Regions from separate parts of the Homo sapiens genome. Here region 1 is linked to region 2. The links are contacts of gene promoters, found by promoter capture Hi-C in human tissues and cell types (Jung and others, 2019). All regions are on one chromosome and are shown on one strand. Each heading gives the region's core, a stretch centred on a gene start or on the middle of the fragment in contact. The rest is flanking DNA. Distances are from core to core; before and after follow the strand shown. Region 1 has its middle 26 kb from the start of MAPK1IP1L. Region 2 holds the start of LGALS3 (galectin 3).

Region 1 (3,446 bases), core at 750-3,249, 52 kb after region 2:
CCTGAATCCTGCTCAGCTGTCAAATTTCAGCTCAAATGTCATTTCCTCTGGTGAGCTTTCCTTGACTCCAGAATACTGTTACACATTATTTCCCCATCGCTCATTACAAATGTAATTTATATTATTTAGTGATTGTCTCTTCCACTAGCTTGTAAACTACACAAGGGCAGAAACCATTTAACTTGTTCAGTATTGAATTTCCAGGATGTGGCACAGAGTAAGTAGTAAAAAAATACCAGTTAGTTGCTCACACCAGTAGCCCTAGCTACTCAGGAGGCTGAGGTGGGAGGGAGTATCGCTTGAGCCAGGGAGTTTGAGGCTGCAGTGAGCTATGATCGAGCCACTGCACTCCAGCCTGGGTGACAGGGCAAGACCTTGTCCCCCAGAAATAATAATAATAAAATAAATAGGCCGGGCACAGTGGCTCACACCTGTAATCCCAGCACTTTGGGAGGCTGAGGCAGGCGGATTATGAGGTCAAGAGATCGAGACCATCCTGGCCAACATGGTGAAACCCCATCTCTACTAAAAATACAAAAATTAGCTGGGCATGGTGGTACGCACCTGTAGTCCCAGCTACTCAGGAGGCTGAGGCAGGAGAACTGCTTGAACCCGGGAGGTGGAGGTTGCAGTGAGCTGAGATTGCACCACTGCACTCCAGCCTGGCGACAGAGCGAGACTCCATCTAATAAAATAAAATAAATAAATAAAAAATAAATAGGCCAGGCGCAGTGGCTCCCACCTGTAATCCCAACACTTTGGGAGGCTGAGGCGGGCAGATCACCTGAGGTCAGGGGTTTGAGACCAGCCTGGCCAACATGGAGTGAAACCCCATCTCTACTACAAATACAAAAATTAGCCAGGTGTGGTGGCAGGTGCCTGTGTAATCCCAGCTACTCGGGAGGCTGAGGCAGGAGAATTGCTTGAATCCGGGAGGCAAAGGTTGCAATGAGCTAAGCTTGTGCCACTGCACTCCAGCCTGGGTGACAAAGTGAGACTCCGTCTCAAAAAAATAAATAAAAATAAGTAATAAATACATACATACCAGTAAGTTGAACGACTAAAACCTAGGTGCTAAAATATCTTTGCTCATTTATCTTAGGCCTGTTCTATCTTTCTTTGTCCTAGGACAAAATCTTATCAACTCCTTTGTCCAAAGCTCAAATCCCTCGAGACTCATTCCAGGAAGCCTTCTCTTGCCGATTCCCCAGTCAGAGTAGTTGTTGGCCTTCGTGGACACAGGCTAATCTCTCATGTAATCCCAAATGAGCTGGGAAAAGCCGTGCTCTTTTAGAATATGAGGTATTCAGAGTTGCTAGTGGGCCTGAAACTCTGTAATGAATAGCTCATGTGTACTCCCAAAACCCAGCAAGAAGGAATAGTGCAGCTGTGGGCAGCCAAGAAGCAAGTCGTGTTCACAGGTATGTGGCTGACGTCAGTGCGGATAACTCATGAAAGCTGTTCCAGGGTGGAGCTGTTCTCTGGAATGTTGGGAACACAGCTACTCAGAGGTACAATTGTGACACTGGACTTCCTCCCCAGACGGGGCGCCTGCCTGCCCTTCATCTGTTGCCGAAACTCACTCACATACCCAGGCCTGGGGCTTGCGATTTTTCTAATCCATCCCCAAGGTGAGCTGCTTTCAAACAGGGTGTGGAATTGATTTGGAAATATGGCCAGGTGCAAAGTAGCGTGAGGTGAGGAGACAGATGTTCTTTTGGACTCTCTTTCTCCGAGACAGGTCTTTTTCTGAAGTGCCTTAAAATATTAATGGTGCCCTGCGTGATAAAGGGGAAAGAGCATGGCTCTGCACTCCACAGGCTGTGAATTTTTACCCCTTGCTTATGTTGTTGTGAGGACACAGTGAGTGTGAGTAAAGGCCTTGGGTAAGGGGCGGGGCTTATAGGGCATTGCTAAGGGAGAAAACAGAAAACAAAGCATGTGGGTGACTGTCTGAGACATCACTAGTGTTCAACAAATGGTAGCTGTTTCACTATTAGGTGCTCCTCGGGTGTACTCAGAGCAATCCGTGCCTCCTGCATCAGTAACATCACACCTGCCTATTTTTCTGTTTCTTCTGCTAAACTGTAACACTCTTGTAGGCCCAATACCTAGAAAAATGCCTTTCAGCTCCCATGATAAGCTCACATCTGATGTCAGGTGCCAACTGCTTCACATGGATGACTTCATTTAATTCTCGTAACCCTGTGGAGTTAGGCATGAGTGTAATCCTCATTTTATTTTATTTTTTATTTTTTTGTGTGGAGTTTCATTTTTGTTGCCCAGGCTGGAGTGCAATGGCGTGATCGTGGCTCACTGCAACCTCCACCTCCTGGGTTTAAGTGATTCTCCCGCCTCAGCCTCCCGAGTAGCTGGGATTACAGGTGCCCACCACCACGCCTAGCTAATTTTTATATTTTTTAGCAGAGATGGGGTTGAAACCCCGTTGGCCAGACTGGTCTCAAACTCCTAACCTCAGGTGATCCGCCCGCCTCGGCCTCCCAAAGTGCTGGGATTACAGGCGTGAGCCACCACGCCCGGCCCTCATTTTATAGCTGAATAAGCAAAGGCACTACAAGGTTAAGTAATTCAGCCAGTGTGATCTATGTAGTAAGCAGTGGAGTCACGATTTAAACACAGCTGGCCAGGTTCCAGAACCTGTGCTCTTTACCTCTGTTTTTGTTTGTTTGTTTGTTTTCTTTTGTTTTTTTTTTTTTTTTTTTTTTTGAGATGGAGTCTCGCTGTGTCGCCCAGGCTGGAGTGCAGTAGCACTATCTCGGCTCACTGCAACCTCCGCCTCCCAGGTTCAAGCAATTCTTCTGTCTCAGCCTCCCAAGTAGCTGGCGCTACAGGCACGCACCACCACGCCCAGCTAATTTTTGTATTTTTAGTAGAGATGAGGTTTCACCACGTTGGCCAGGCTGGTCTCAAACTCCTGACCTCAAGTGATCCTCCCACCTCAGCCTCCCAAAATGCTGGGATTACAGGCGTGAGACACCACGCCCAGCCTGCTCTCTACCTCTATACTACGCTGCCTCTGTCCTCACTCTAATTATGTTTTTCTCATTTTTCTCCCTAATAGCACAGTGAAAAATACCATCCCTATTGTCTTCCGTATTTGTGGGGCTATCTTTATTCTGCGATTCTTGTTGTACTGGCTCAACATAATGCTTTACACAATTGAATGCTTGACAATTGCCTCCCCATTGGTGCAGAGCTGGGTCTGGCATGCTGGGTTTATGACCCAGTTATGCTCTTTCACAAAAACATTTCTGGATGCCATTGTCAGACAGGACACTAGACTGAGTGGACTACTGGGAAGACCCTTTTATGCTCTTGTGTTCTAAATGACAGCCCTGTTTCCTAAAGTAATTGAGATTTTCAGTTATCAGCATAAAAGGAAACCATGGATGCTAGGCACAGCCTCGTGCTACTGTTACATGCCT
Region 2 (3,751 bases), core at 951-3,450:
TTGGCTGCAGTTAAGGTTTAGAGTCTGGCTAATGAGGGTTCTATGTAAAAAGGTACCTAAATTATACATGAGACCAGCATTAGCCTCTTGACCTCACTAAGTGAAAAGTCTTTGTAAAGCACCTATGCATATTTGTAGTACAGCGAACTATCATAGTTTAAAGACCGCTTAACAGAGCGAGACACCTATTCTACTTGGACACAGCTAGTTTTCGGGGTCAATCCATCAGGCGGTACTCGTCCTCTTCTGCTTCTTACGTAACTTAGTGAGGCATCCTCCTAGCACTTCTAAGTGCTAAATATTCAAGGACCATCATCAAACTTCTCCCCAGAATCTGGACTAAGTGCTGATTTTAAACATCACCTCTAAATATTATGAATTTAGGAAGTTGCTTAAGTCCCCCAAAGATCAAGGATGGGGTATGATCATCTTTAGAATGAGAGACCCTACCCTAAGGATTGAGAGTCAATGTCTAAAAGGGAGACTATTGTTGTAGAAAAGTAAATGATCATTATTCAACTTTACCTTTTATGGAAACACACAATTTCCTAGTATGAAATGTTTATAAACTTGAGGTAGGCCAGGCGCAGTGGCCCACGCCTATAATCCCAGCACTTTAGGAGGCCGAGGCAGGCGGGTCACCTGAGGTCGGGGGTTCGAGACCAGCCTGACCAACATGGAGGGACCCCCCCCCCCCCACCACCACCACCACGAAAAATACAAAATTAGCCGGGCATGGTGGCGCATGCCTGTAATCCCAGCTACTCGGGAGGCTGAGGCAGGAGAATCGCTTGAACCCGGTAGGCAGAGGTTGCGGTGAGCCGAGATAGTGCCGTTGCACTCCAGCCTGGGCAACAAGAGCGAAACTGCGTCTCAAAAAAAAAAAAAACCTTAGGTAAACAAATCAGAACTTTGGAAGCTGACGAAAGCTTTTTCTTCTCAGGCCCTGTGCCCAAGTAGTTAATTGTATCAGTCTCATTTTCTTCAGAATTAACTGAGCCTTCTCCCATTTCTTCCCCAGAATCCTAGAGACAGCCTGAGTCACTGAGGTCCAGGTGTCCTCATTGCGCAGCAACCCAATTCCCAGAGTCACTTTACAAACATTCCGCAGTCTCTGGAACCCGCATGGCGAACTTGAAGGGTAAGGCTGAAACCTAAGTCCCAGCCTCCACCATGCGTCCCCGACTCCCTGGACCTGAACGCCTACTGCTCAGAGGGCAATCGTTTTAGTGTTTCTATTTGAGCACCCGATAATTCAGAATAAACTCTCAAACATGTTGTGAAAGCCCCCCGGTAGGGCTCTGCACGCTAGGACCAACATTTTGCCACACCCACCATTTCCTGGGCACAGACAGTCTGGGCAGGGAGGGGCATTTGATTCGGAAAAGCTTAGAGTTTGCAGTCTTTGCAAAGCCGGGTCATGCCCACTCAGGCCATGGGGCAAGCACCATTTTCTGTGGGATCAGCAACCAGACAGCGGCTGCAGCCCGGCCGCAGCTGGTCCCGGTGGAAGAACTCATTCGCGCTCCACAGCGAGATCTCCTCCAAGTCCAGCCTCAGCTGATGCTCAAAAGGGGCCGGGCCAGCCAAGCTGTGGGTCCCGGGAGGCGCCCTATGCAGTCCTGGGAAGTCCCTTCGCTCCCCCGCGGCCGTGATCTGGGGAAGGGTGACGGGGCTCCAACCCCAATTAGAGAAACTGGAGCGGCCGTCTGGTTTGCTGAGCGAGCCCCTCCGCCTCCCCTCGCAGCGGGACCTGGTGGGACTGGGGTGACCAGACTGCGGCTCGTCACCGGATGGGGCTTACTCTGGGGCCGCAGAGCGCAGGCGGCGGAGGTGCGACGGCGGCGAAGCCCACGAGGCTCCGCAGAAGGTGGCCCGTGCCGCCCCGGGGACGTGTGTGGGTCTCGTAAGGTGCTGCCAACCTTCCCCGAACGCCAGCGCCCTCGATAATCAAAGGCGACTGCCCCGGGCCCAGATCGCTGCCCGCCGCCCCGCTCCTGGAGGGCAGAGCACAGGCTGTGGGGCTCTCCGCGCGCGCCCCGGCCCGGTCCCGGGGAGCCGAACCCTCTCCGGACCGCGCCCCAAGCAGCGCCCGGGCGCCCTCTCCCCTGCCCGGCCGGAGCCGCGTCCCCCGCGCCCCGCGCAGCTCACCGCTCGTTGGCTGGCTCCGGACGGCTGCTGGCGAGGAGGTGCTGCGGGCGCCGGCGGGGCGGTGGCTCCGAGCCTCAAATACTCCCAGCCCCGCCCGGCCCGCCTCTCCCGAGGCGGGGCGGCGCCCCTGCCCAGCCAGTCCTCTCCCCGGACCAGGCTGGGCGAGCCCCGCGCCGGCCAGACACCCCGAGCCGCCGCCGCAGGGGCGACCAGGAAGCTCCCGACGGGGAGAGCGCGGGCACTGAGGGGCGCGACCTCCGCTGCCACCGTTAGGTTCCGTGGCGCTCCCGGGACCTGGGCTGCGGCCGCGTCTGTCCCCCGCCCTCTCCAGAATCACCTGAGTGAAGAATTCGCTGAGAGGAATTCAATTAATAGGTTGCTTTATTTGTAGAATACAAAACCAAAAATCTTTTCAATGTCTATTCCCTAGGGAACTGACTACAAATTGACTACTTATTCTAGATCAATAGGCCTAGTCTCAAAGCAATTCCCTTATAAAGCAATTAATCAGACAACTCTTTAACACATTTTACACAGGAAATTCACATTATATATATATATACCCTCCTTTTAACTTCACCTTATCTTTTTGTTGGAAGAAAGAGATAAGTATTATTATCTCATTTTTACTGTCAGGGTGCTATAGTCTGAATGTTTATATCCCGCCAAAGTTCATATGTTGAAATCCTAACCCTCACGGTGATGTATTAGGAAGTGGAGGCCTTGGGAAGTGATTAGGTCATAGGGGCAGGGTCCTTATGAATGAGATTGGTGCCCTAATAAAAGAGGCCGGAGAGAGACCCCTTGCCACTTCCACCTTGTGAAGACACAGCCAGAAGGCTCCCTCTGTGAACCAGAAAGCAGGCCCTCACCAGACATCAAATCTGCTGGCCTGGATCTTGGATTTCCCGACCTTCAGAACTGTGGGAAATAAATGTATATTGCCTATAAGCTACCCAGTTTATGATATTTTGTTACAGAAGCCCAAACAGACTAAAAGAGAAAATGATTTACTTATCCAAGCTCACTCATGTCTAGGAACAAAATCCAGAAATCCTGGCTCTTACACTTTACCTGGAAAAGCACCAGGCCAAAGAATCCTTGCAGGTTGGAACAAGGATCTCTGAGGAAAAAAAAAAAAATTAAGGGGGGTAGGGGAAGAATCTTTGCAGGGACTGGCTTATGTAAACTATGGAGAAAACCAGGTATCATCTGGTTCCTAAATAATTCCTGTAGCCCTTATAGTAACCAATTAATAACATAAAGATAAATTATTTCCTGCAGTTTTTCAACTTAGGGAAATGTTCCTGTGAAGGACTCACTTGATGGAATTGAGAAGCTGTCTTGGCATTCTCTAGGATAAACTTGAAAGTGTCTTAGTGGTTGGCACGGTTCCTGCAACATCGTCCCCTCTAGGCTTGCACATAGAAGTCACAGTGTGGCTGGGGATTATTTATGCAAGTTTGAACTCTTATCTGAAGAGGTAGCCTGGCAACCAATTTATTTGAATGGATCACCCATAGTAAATGACTAACCTCTGGGTAGTAAAAAGGTATCACCCAAAGGAATGCCCTTGGTCTCCAGGGAAAATGCTATAAAT

What was found. Contacts are between HindIII fragments. The study calls those that stand out against the background at their distance.
Region 1: a fragment that was not itself captured here is called in contact with the fragment with the promoter of LGALS3 in region 2 in 2 of the 25 tissues and cell types used here (adrenal gland and small bowel).

The regions. Positions count from the first base shown.
Region 1 is chr14:55,075,829-55,079,274 of GRCh38, reverse strand. No RefSeq gene overlaps it. Among named protein-coding and RNA genes, the nearest start is that of MAPK1IP1L, 26 kb to the right of the region's middle. RefSeq lists enhancers at 367-868, 869-1,370, 1,393-1,892, 811-2,010. The HindIII fragment of the contact is 3,721 bases long and covers 139-3,446 here.
Region 2 is chr14:55,127,701-55,131,451 of GRCh38, reverse strand. It overlaps LGALS3 (galectin 3), which reads right to left and starts at 2,200. Exons shown (of 6, transcript NM_002306.4): 1 at 2,152-2,200. RefSeq lists an enhancer at 1,365-1,554 and a silencer at 1,905-2,504. The HindIII fragment of the contact is 8,667 bases long and covers 1,160-3,751 here.